Regions from separate parts of the Homo sapiens genome. Here regions 1 and 3 are each linked to region 2. Evidence: promoter capture Hi-C in human tissues and cell types (Jung and others, 2019). All regions are on one chromosome and are shown on one strand. Each heading gives the region's core, a stretch centred on a gene start or on the middle of the fragment in contact. The rest is flanking DNA. Distances are from core to core; before and after follow the strand shown. Region 1 overlaps ZNF333 (zinc finger protein 333). Region 2 holds the start of GIPC1 (GIPC PDZ domain containing family member 1). Region 3 overlaps LINC01841 (long intergenic non-protein coding RNA 1841).

Evidence for each region. Contacts are between HindIII fragments. The study calls those that stand out against the background at their distance.
Region 1: a contact is called between a fragment that was not itself captured here and the fragment with the promoter of GIPC1 in region 2, in 2 of the 25 tissues and cell types used here (dorsolateral prefrontal cortex and lymphoblastoid cells).
Region 3: a contact is called between a fragment that was not itself captured here and the fragment with the promoter of GIPC1 in region 2, in 3 of the 25 tissues and cell types used here (liver, lymphoblastoid cells and spleen).

Annotation. Positions count from the first base shown.
Region 1 is chr19:14,693,994-14,697,678 of GRCh38, reverse strand. ZNF333 (zinc finger protein 333) reads right to left here. Exons shown (of 12, transcript NM_032433.4): 3 at 2,546-2,669; 4 at 2,018-2,113. Among named protein-coding and RNA genes, the nearest start is that of ZNF333, 5.8 kb to the right of the region's middle. The HindIII fragment of the contact is 5,396 bases long and covers 1-3,685 here.
Region 2 is chr19:14,494,428-14,497,761 of GRCh38, reverse strand. GIPC1 (GIPC PDZ domain containing family member 1) reads left to right here and starts at 1,635. Exons shown (of 9, transcript NM_005716.4): 1 at 1,635-1,725. RefSeq lists enhancers at 1-113, 1,394-2,320 and silencers at 1,302-1,361, 1,502-1,731. The HindIII fragment of the contact is 12,252 bases long and covers 1-3,334 here.
Region 3 is chr19:14,335,520-14,339,079 of GRCh38, reverse strand. All of the region lies in intron 1 of LINC01841 (long intergenic non-protein coding RNA 1841), which reads left to right. All of the region lies in intron 1 of LINC01842 (long intergenic non-protein coding RNA 1842), which reads right to left. Among named protein-coding and RNA genes, the nearest start is that of LINC01842, 3.6 kb to the right of the region's middle. RefSeq lists enhancers at 1-99, 100-600 and a silencer at 1,297-1,497. The HindIII fragment of the contact is 5,959 bases long and covers 1-3,560 here.

The DNA.
Region 1 (3,685 bases), core at 1,035-3,534, 200 kb before region 2:
CATAAATCTTGTACACAAGGCCAGGCACGGTGGCGCACGCCTGTAATCCCACCACTCTGGGAGGCCAAGGTGGGAGGATCACCCAAGCCCAGGAGTTCAAGACCAGCCTGGGCAACATAGGAAGAATGGTCTCTAGAAAAAAATTTAAAATTAGCCAGGCATGAGGGCATGCACCTGTGGTCCCAGCTATTCAAGAGACTGAGGTGGGAGGATTGCTTGAGCCCAAAAGGCTGAGGCTGCAGTGACCTATGATTGCACCACTGCACTCCAGCCTGGGCGACAGAACAAGACCCTATCTCAAAAAAAAAAAAAAAAAAAAAAGAAAAGAAAAAAGAAATATTGTACACAAACATTCACAGCAACATTATTCACAATAGCTAAAAAGTAGAAACAATCCAACTGTCTATCAACTGATGAACAAATAATCAAAATATAGCTTATCCATACAATGTATATTATTCAGCCTTAAAAAAGGAATTAAGTTCTGATTCATGCTACAACATGGATGGATCTGGAAAACATAAAGCTAAGTGAAAGAAGACAGATACTGCTGTAGTTTAAGTGTGTCCTCCACAGTTCATGGGTTGGAAGCAATTCCCATACAACAGTATTGAGAGCTGGAACTTTAAAAGGTGATTAGGTGGCCGGGCACAATGGCTCACGCCTGTAATCCCAGCATTTTGTGAGGCTGAGGTGGGTGGACCACGAGATGAGGAGTTCTCGACCAGCCTGACCAACACAGTGAAACCCCATCTCTACTAAAAATACAAAAATTAGCCGGGTGTGGTGGTGTGCACCTGTAGTCCCAGCTACTCAGGAGACTCAGGCAGGAGAATCGCTTGAACCCAGGACGCAGAGGTTGCAGTGAGCCGAGATCGTACCACTGCACTCCAGCCTGGGTGACAGGGCGAGACTCTGTCCCAAAAAAAAAAAAAAAAAAAAAAAAAGGTGATTAGGTCACGAGGAATCTGCCCTGTGATTACTTCAGAAGGGGGTTAGTTATCTCAAGAGTGGCCTTGCTGTAAAAACCAGTCTGGGCCTCTCTTGTTCTCTTGCAACATGATCTCGTCCACCATGTTATGATGCTGCAAGAAGGCCCTTACCAGATGCAGCCCCTCAGCCTTAGACTTCCCAGCCTCCAGAACCAGGAGTCAAATAAACTTCTATTGTTTATAAACTACCCAGTCTAACTTACTTGCAACACAAAACTATTATACTAAGCCGGATACCAAAGGCTACTTATGATACGATTTCCATATACAAATGTCTATATAGGACAATCCATAGAGACAGAAAGCAGATTAGTGGCTGCCAGGGGCTGAGGGAGGGGTAATGGGGAGTAACTGCCCATGGGGACAGGGTTTCTACTTGGCGTGATGAAAATGTTCTGGAATTGGGTAGTGGTGATGTTTACACAAGGTTGTGAACCACTGAACTGCACACTTTAAAGGGGTGAATTTCATGGTGTGTGACTTATAGCTCTAATTTTTGCTTTGTTTTGTTTTTTGGAGACAGAGTCTCGCTCTATCCCCCAGGCTGGAGTGCAGTGATGCAATCTTGGCTCACTGCAACTTCTACCTCCCAGGTTCAAGCAATTCTCATGCCTCAGCCTCCCAAGTAGCTGGGATTACAGGTGTGCACCATCACATCCGGCTAATTTTTGGTAGAGATGGGGTTTTGCCATGTTGGCCAGGCTGGTCTCGAACTCCTGACCTCAGGTGATCCACCAGCCTCGGCCTCCCAAAGTGCTGGGATTACATGCAAGAGCCACCACACCTGGCCCTCTAATTTTTTAAGAGAAATTAGAACAAATCTTTTTCTGAAACCAAAGGAAAGTAGGAGAGGAGGGCTAGAAAGTGAAAATAGAAGAGAAGCTAAAGGAACTTGAGAAACCTCACTCCGAATGGCCTTCGATGTCCCCTCAGAACAAAGGGCCTTTGAAAATGCTCTTGACACTTCCCAAGGCACACCACCCAACCAGGGGGGTCGGGGGATCCACAGCCTGCCTGGTACTCACCAACACCTGTGGCACGGAGAATCCCTCGTTCTGTTGCCTTTGGCTCTGCTCTTTGCCCCAGCTGGGAGACACAACTGGGTTTGCATGGTGGAGTTCCTGCACATGAAGAAAGACACAGGCACTGAGAGAGAGAGGGCTTGCAGGGGAAAACAAACTCTTGTTTCTCAACTCAAACTCTCCTTCAGCTTCAATATGGGCTTCAGATTCTCTGGGCTGAGCAAGTGTGATGGGTAGCAAAGGGATCTTGCCCAATAGCTAATGAACTCAGGACCCAACCCACAAACACCCTCCCCTCTGCCCCAAGGGGCTGAGGCTGTCTCACCTCAGAAGCCTGGGGCCAAATTCAAGGAGACCCAAACAGGGCCTTACTACAGAGGGAAAGAAGTCAATGCAACAGATGAAGCTTTGTCATCCTGTGGACGCTAAGTGCCACAAAGCCTAAGCCACGTCTGTCTTCTTCACATGGCAGGCGCTTAAGAAGCATTTAGTGCCTGCGTACAGGAAGGAGCCAGGTGACGCCAGCCTTACCCCTGGAGGCCAGGGTCCTGCACTGGTCAAGCATCCTGTATTTGCACAGGCTCCTCCGTGCGCTGTCCAGCAATGCCCACTCCTGGATGAACTCCACGGCCACATCCTCAAAGGTGACGGATTCCTAAAACAGCACACACATTCTGGCTCGGCAAATACCACCCCCACCACTGAGCAGAACGACTGGTTATCACTGGAGAAGAGAAAATGTTCAGACACAGCAGGCATGGAAAATCCAGCCTAAAGCCTATTTTTGTAAATAATGTTTTCTTGGCACACAGCCACGTGCATTTATTTACAATGCATCAATGGCTGTTTTGAGGCCACAACGGCAGAACTGAATAGTTGTGACAGAGATCACATGGGCCACCAAGCTGAAATGTTTACTTTCTTTTAACATTTGGATAAATCCTAAAGTGTAAAGTTATGGCTCTCTGTGTAACTCCACTGACTTGTGATGGCAGAGCCTGTCCCTCCCTGCTTAGAGAGTTTTTCCTAAACTCCTTATTACAAATTGGCACAGCATCACAAATTTGGGATTGAAAGCTTAATTTCTGTGAAGTCCCTGGGATCCCCCAAGACTTACGTCCTTAATTATATACTTGTGAAAGTAGGACTTCCATTGCATCTGAGAGTCTTTTTCTTTTTTTCTTTTTTTTTTTTGAGACAGTCTTGCTCTGTCGTCCAGGCTGGAGTGCAGTGGCGCCATCTCGGCTCACTGCAACCTTCACCTCCTGGGTTCAAGCGATTTTCCTACCTCAGCCTCCCAAGTAGCTGGGATTACAGGCACGTGCCACACACCCAGCTAACTTTTTGTATTTTTAGTAGAGACAGAGTTTCACCATGTTGGCCAGGCTGGTCTTGAACTCCCAGCCTCAAGTGATCTGCCCGCCTCGGCCTCCCAAAGTGCTGGGATTACAGGCATGAGCCACCACGCCCGGCCTCATCTGAGAATCCTTTTAATTGCAGAATTCTTCAGAGCAGTGCTGTCCAACAGACATCACTCTCTGATGATGGGAATGTTCCATGCCTGTGCTTTCCAGAAAGGGGCTACCAGCACATGTGGCTGTTGAGCACTTGGGCAATGTGACTGGGGCGACTGAGAAACTGAGCGCTTAAACTTTTTAATTTTTTTTTTTT
Region 2 (3,334 bases), core at 386-2,885:
CATCCCGTCCTCTCCAAGTGTGCAGGGGGCAGCTTAGATGCCAGGCTCAAGCAGGGCAGGCAGCACAGTCCCACAGAGGGTACTGGCCAGCCCAGGCAACTGATTGCTCAGTGGGATGGCAGAGGTCAGCAGAACAGGAAGGGACGGACAATAGCTGTGCCTGTTGCCTGGCCTGCCACAGCAATCTCGGTGTTTGCCAGCTGGGTGGGGCTGGCTAGGCAATCCTCAGCAGCAAAGCTCAAGGTTCCATCTCCCATTTTAGTTTGCCCCTCTGCAGGTCCTGGTGGGACTGATATGCACAACATCTCACCCTGGGAACTGCAAAGAACCAGTCTTTCTATGGAGCTTGAGCAGGGTCTCAGCACTTAGAGGCTTCCAGGAACTACAGTTCCCAGAACACACAGCATTCAGCCCCAGTTGCTGTCCAAGTGGCTGGGTTTGAACTAGAACAAGGAAATCTCACTTGTCCCGGGAACTGAGCGTCCTGGCCTGGTCCAGGTGCATTTGTGACTCTTGTTTCTTGGATCTGTGTCCACCTGATAAATCCCCCTTCCTTATAAACTACATGGTCTATTTGTCCACACAGGTTTGCTGAGAACCTGCCGTGTGGCAGCCTGAGGTGGGAGTGAGGGGTTGACAAGAGAGACTCAGCCTCCACCCTCACAGTCAGATGGAGGAGACAGATCTATGAAAGGCTGGCTGGGTACCTTCTGTGACCTAGCACATAAACAAACCAACAAGCAGATAAACTATCTCACCCTTGTCTTTCATTGCATCTTGCCTTTCCACACTGATTTACTAGCTCCCACGATATTGCAGTATCCTAAAGCGTGCTGTATCTCTCTGTCCGGCTTTTGCACGCTCTGTTACCTCTACCAGGAGCACATTCAGCTTATTCACTGACGCGTCTTCAGAGGTAGGACAGAGTCTGGCACGGAGCAGTCTGGCACATTAAATATTTGATGAGTGAGTGAACGAATGAATGAATGAATGCCTTTGTCCATTGTACAGCCCAGGAAGCAGGGAAACTCGGGACCCTCCCTATTCATCTCGATCCCCCGCCCGCCCCCAGAGATTGAATGCATCTTTTTATCCGCTCCGAGGATGGCCAGGCTGGGGCAGAGGAGGCCGGGCAGGGAACTGGGTTGGGGACTGCCATTGACCCCCACCCAGGTCTCCTAAACTGTCCGCTTTCCTGGACGTCGGAAGTTCGAATCCTTTCCCCGAAACCTGGCCTAGGTCACCTGACTCCCCCGCCCCTCACCACCCAGGGCACCCGAGACTGACACTCAGCCGACAGCACGTGGTTCAGGGGCCCCAGCTTCCTTCCCATTGGCCGCTTGTCTCCTTCCTCCCTCGCGATTGGCCGGGGCCCAGCTGCAGCTCCCCCCCCTCCTCAGCCCTCCGGTGGTACAGCCAGCCGCGGCTTAGGCGGGGCGGAACGGTCCACTGCTTCGCGGCGAGGGGAGGAGTCGGGAAGAGCCGGGCGAGGCGGAGGGATCCCTCTGGAATGTTTCCGTCGGGTCCACCCGAAGCGGAAGACGCGGATTGGCTGCGAGCACCGAGAGGCAGCCGCTGATTGGCCGGCCGCGGGCGTCGGCCCCGCCCCCCAGGCGCCGCTGCGGGAGAGGCCCGGTCTGGAGTTTGCGGAGGGCCGAGCCGGGTGCGCACGGGGAGGCGGAGGCAGCGGCGGCGGCGGCGGCGGCGGCGGCGGCGGCGGAGCAGGTGAGTGGCCTCTGCGAGAAGGATGTGTCTGCTCCGGGGGCCTCGGGGGTCGCGGGCCTGCGAGGATCCGGCCGATCCTGCAGGGTGGGGCCGGCGCCGTGGACGCGACTGGAGGTCTAGGCTGCGCGCGGGGATGCCGGAGGCCCCTTCCCAGGGGAAGCGGGGGTGGGGGGTGGTGGGGGCAGCTCCCTTCCTGCTGGCGGGCAGGGGACAAACGCCTCCCAACGCTGGGCTGGGGTTTCTGGGCTTGCCCCTCCCCCCGTCCCCCGGCTGGACTGTCCCCATCCCAGCGTGGACAGGCGCGGGGTCAGTGTTTCTGACCCTTTCCTGGGCACTTCCCCTGAGCTAACCGCGTCTGAACCCTCCAGGGCCTTGGGGGGGACGCAGTGAGGACCACGGTCTGAATAATAATCGTCATGAAAAACTCCACCTCAGCTAGCATTTATTGGAGAGCTTCCGTGTCAGGCATTTACCATGAGGATAATTGACTCTAAACACCTCATGGGAGGTGCTGTGCCTTCTTGTAAAAAAGGTGAGGCAGCCTACCCAGAGAGGTGGAGTGACTTGCCCAAGGTCACACAGCTAGTAACTGGCACATCTGGGACTGGAACTCATGCCCCAGGGTCCAGAACTGGAGTCACACCCACTAGACTGGATACCAATAACTCCACGGCTCAGTTGTTGCTGAGTAGCTCCGGCCCCCTACCCCTCCCACCCCCTACCCCGTACTCATCATCAGGGCCACACCTGCTGGTCTTTTGCTTTACCAGCCACTCAAACAGGAAGCTGCCCTCCTTTCCCTTCTCCCCAGAGCTGGAGAGGGCAGGTCTAACTACCTGGGTCCAGAGAAGAGAGTGGCGTCTGCAGGGGGCCAGGATGCTGGGGTCTGGGCCCACTGGGTTCCCCCCTGGCAACCTGGGCCGAGGCTGGGAAGTAGGCGTTCTCCCCGGAAACACCCAGGAGCCGGTTTTTCAAGAGTGAATCAGAGGCCTCTTTCCCTCCTTCTCTCCAAAGCAACACTGTGCTGGAACGGGGAGCCTGGGCGTGGTTTCCCCCTTCCCCTAGCTTCTGTGTGCTCCCAGGAACCCCCTTCCCCTCCTCCTGCTGGCCACACTGCTTCTGTGTGGCCGTGGGGTTGCTAAGTTTCAGGCCCTTCCCAGGATGAGGGGGTGAGGATGCTGAAATTCCAGCCCAAACACTCAATATCCGGGCTGAAGTGGCTCTTCATCTCTGTGTTCAGGTGTGAGGGGAGCCAGGGAAAGTGGGGAGCCTAGGACAGTTGGCAACCGCACAGCAGGCATGTTTAGGGGGCTGTTTCAAGGATGGGGAGCACAGAGAGCAATCAGAACGAGGACCTGAGACACATTCATTCACTCAGTCTACAAATATTTAGTGAGCACCTGCTACGTGCATGTGCTAGGCACTGTTCTTGGCACAGAAAATGCAACAGTGAACAAAACAAAATCCCTACTTTTGAGGAGTTGGCACTCTGAAAGGAAGGAAGCAGCCAACAAACAAGTTAGCAAGTAAATAAAGAAGATAATTTCAGATGGCACTAACTGCTATGAATAAAATATGAGCGGGTGGTACTGTAGAGAGTAGTTGTGGG
Region 3 (3,560 bases), core at 161-2,660, 160 kb after region 2:
ATTAGAATGAAAATGTAGTTTAATGAGGATGAAAACGGTAATTGTGCCAGGCAGCGCAGTTCAGAAGTGTCGCTTTCCCTTGGGGCACCTTGCTGGCCTCTGAGGCTCTGGGCATGGGTGAGAAGGACTCAGGGCTGGGAAGGCAGGGGATTGTCAGTGCCTCAGTTTCCCCCCAAAGTGTCCTCCCGCTGGCATGGGGTAAAGAGCCTGTGTAGAGCCCCACGTGCCCCTGGGGCTGGTTCCAGGTGCCCAGAGCAACGTTTTTCCATCCCACACTTTATTCCTATTAATAATACAACCATCCGTGGAACCATATCAGTGATGCCATTTATTGAGTGCCTACTATGTGCCAGGTACCATTCTAACCCCTTCACAGATGCTAACTCAGGTAATCCTTAAAATTATCCTCATTTTACAGATGGGAACACTGAGGCACAGATAAACCATTGACCCTGGTAGGGATATTTTAAAGAGCGGGTGAGGGCCGGGCGTGGTGGCTCACACCTGTAATCCCAGCACTTTGGGAGGCTGAGGCGGGCGGACCACTTGAGGTCAGGAGTTCAAGACTAGCCTGAAAAACATGGCAAAACCCCATCTCTACTAAAAATACAAAAATTAGCCGGAGGTAGTGGTGCGTGTTTGTAGTCCCAGCTACTTGGGAGGCTGAGGCAGGAGAATAGCTTGAACTCAGGAGGCGGAGGTTGCAGTGAGCCGAGATGGTGCCACTGTACTCCAGCCTGGATGACAGAGAAGGACTCCGTCTCAAAAAAAAAAAAAAAAAAAAGAGTGGGTGAGGAGAAAGGTGGAATACAGTAGCCAGGTGCCTCCTTCTTTCTTTTTTTTATTTTCTTTTTCTTTTTTCTTTTCTTTTCTTTTCTTTTTTTTTTTTTTTTTTTGAGACAGTCTTGCTTTGTTGCCCAGGCTGGAGTGAAGTGGTGTGATCTCGGCTCACTGCAACCTTCGCCTGCTGAGTTCAAGCGATTCTCGTGCCTCAGCCTCTTGAGTAGCTGGGATTACAGGCATACACGACCACACCGGCTGATTTTTGTATTTTTAGTAGAGATGGGGTTTTGCCATGTTGATCAGGCTGGTCTTGAACTCCTGGCCTCAAGTTCAAGATTTGCCTGCCTCGGCCTCCCAAAGTGCTGGGATTACAGGAGTGAGTCATTGCGCCCAGCTATCCTTTCTTTAACCAGGTGGGTGCTAGGGGCATGAAGGAATTGCCAGCCATCGAGGCCAGGGGATCTTCTCCCTCCTCCTCCCCCTGGCCCAGGATCCTCACTATTTCGGTTCTTCACTTCTTTTTAATGCTCTAATCACGCCTCTCTCTTTAATGCTCTAATCACACCTCTCCACTCGAAGGTGGGCGTGGCTAGACGATTGGTGGGCGTAGCTAGATGAGAGGGCGTGGTTTATGTACAGTGGGCATGGTTTGATACACAGTGGGCGTGGCTAGAAGCGCATTCTGCGTGGCAGAATTTACCAACCCATCTTAACTTGGAGGAATCAGAAACTGGAGCCATAGCAGTAAACTACAGAACCCAGACACAAAGCCGTGGCTTCTGGCCCCAGGGCCTGAGCTTTCTTGCCATGGAAAGCTGAAGGGTTCTTCAAGTGTTCTGGGTAAGACTGAGGTTCATAAGATCTCAAAGTCTCTGCTTTTGTTTCTGGAGGAACCGCCAATAAAATGCAACCTGCAATGAGGCCTAGACAGAAGAGAAATGTTCATTGAGGCCAGTTGGGCAATAAAAGGAGATCTAGCTGGAGTCCCAGATCAGAGGAGATAGCCAGCCTGGGCAACATAGTGAGACCCCATCCCTACAAAAATAATTTTTAAAAATTTATCTGGGCATGGTGGCACACACCTGTGGTCCCAGCTACTCAGGAGGCTGAGGCAGGAGGATGGCTTGAGCCCAGGAGGTTGATGCTGCAGTGATTGCGGTGAGCTATTATGGTGCCACTGCATTCCAGCCTGGGCAACGGAGTGAGGCTCTATCTCAAGAAAAAAAAGGAAAAGAAAAGATCAAGGGAGATTAGATTGTTTGCCACGTATATGGCAGACAAATCATTAAGAGCCTTAATATACAAAAAGCACATATGAATCAATAAGAAAAAAAAGACAAACATCCCAAATGTGAAATTGGCACAGGGCTTGAATAGGGGGTTCACAAAGGAGTGAGAGCTTAACAAACCTCTGTAAAGATGCTCAATCTGACCGTTCAGCTGAAGAATCACTTTTCCTTGTCAAGCTTATGAGTGTGTGTGAAGTTTTGGGAATGCACACTTGAGCACGGTCATGGGAGTTTAAATTGACACAACTTTTTTTTTTTTAATTTTTTGAGACAGGGTCTCACTATGTCACCCATGCTGGAGTGCAGTGGCACAATCACGGCTCACTGCAGCCTCAACCTCCTAGGCTTAAGGAATCCTCCCACCTCAGCCTGCCAAATAGCTGACTACAGGTACAGGTCACCACACCCAGCTAATTTTTTAAAAACTTTTTGTAACATGGGGTCTCACGACTTGCCCAGGCTGGTCTCAAACTCCTGATCTCAAGTGATCCTCCCTCCTCGGCCACCCAAAGTGCTAGGATTACAGATGTCAGCCACCGCACCCGGCCACGATACAACTTTCTTGGGATGGTGTTCTAGATATTAGTATTAAACCTTTAAGCATGTGGATTCTCTGACCCAGCAAATCCACCTCTAGGAATTTATGTCAGGGATATAATCAGTCAAATAGGTGGAGAACTATAAAGAATAGGCTGGGCACGGTGGCTCACGCCTGTAATCCCAGCACTTTGGGAGGCTGAGGCGGGCAGATCACCTGAGGTCAGGAGTTCGAGACCAGGTTGGCCAACATGGTGAAACGCCGTCTCTACTAAAAATACAAAAATCAGCCGGGCGTGGTGGCAGGCGCCTGTAATCCCAGCTACTCGGGAGGCTGAGGCAGGAGAATTGCTTGAACCTGGGAGGCAGAGGTTGCAGTGAGCCGATATTGTACCATTGCACTCCAGCCTGGGGGACAAGAGCAAGACTTCGTCTCAAAAAAAGAAAAGAAAAGAAAAGAATAACTAACACAGGGTGGTTAAGAGCTCTGGAATCAGACAGCCAGGGTTCGAATTCTGGCTTCACCACCTTCAAGCTGTGTGACCTAAGTCATATGGTTTATTGTTACGGTTCCCAGATTTTCTCATCAGTAAAATGGGCCTCTCATGAGGACTCCATGAGGCAAAGTGTGTGAAATGCTTAGCCTTCTGCCAGGCACATAGAGGATGCTTGCTGTTACCATCATTAAGAAAAGCTTTAAAAGAGGCTGGAAACAATGGAGGTACCTGGGCTCTGGGGATTGGCTACATGCATAGTAGAAAATGAAAGTGGGCTGGGCATGGTGGCTCATGCCTGTAATCCCAGCACTTTGGGAGGCCCAGGTGGGAGGATCGCCTGAGCCCAGGAGTTCAAGACTAGCCTGGGCAACATAGCCAGATCCCAACTCTACAAAAACTAAAAAATTAGCCAGGCATGGTGGCACATGTCTGTACTTCCAGCTACTTGGGAGGC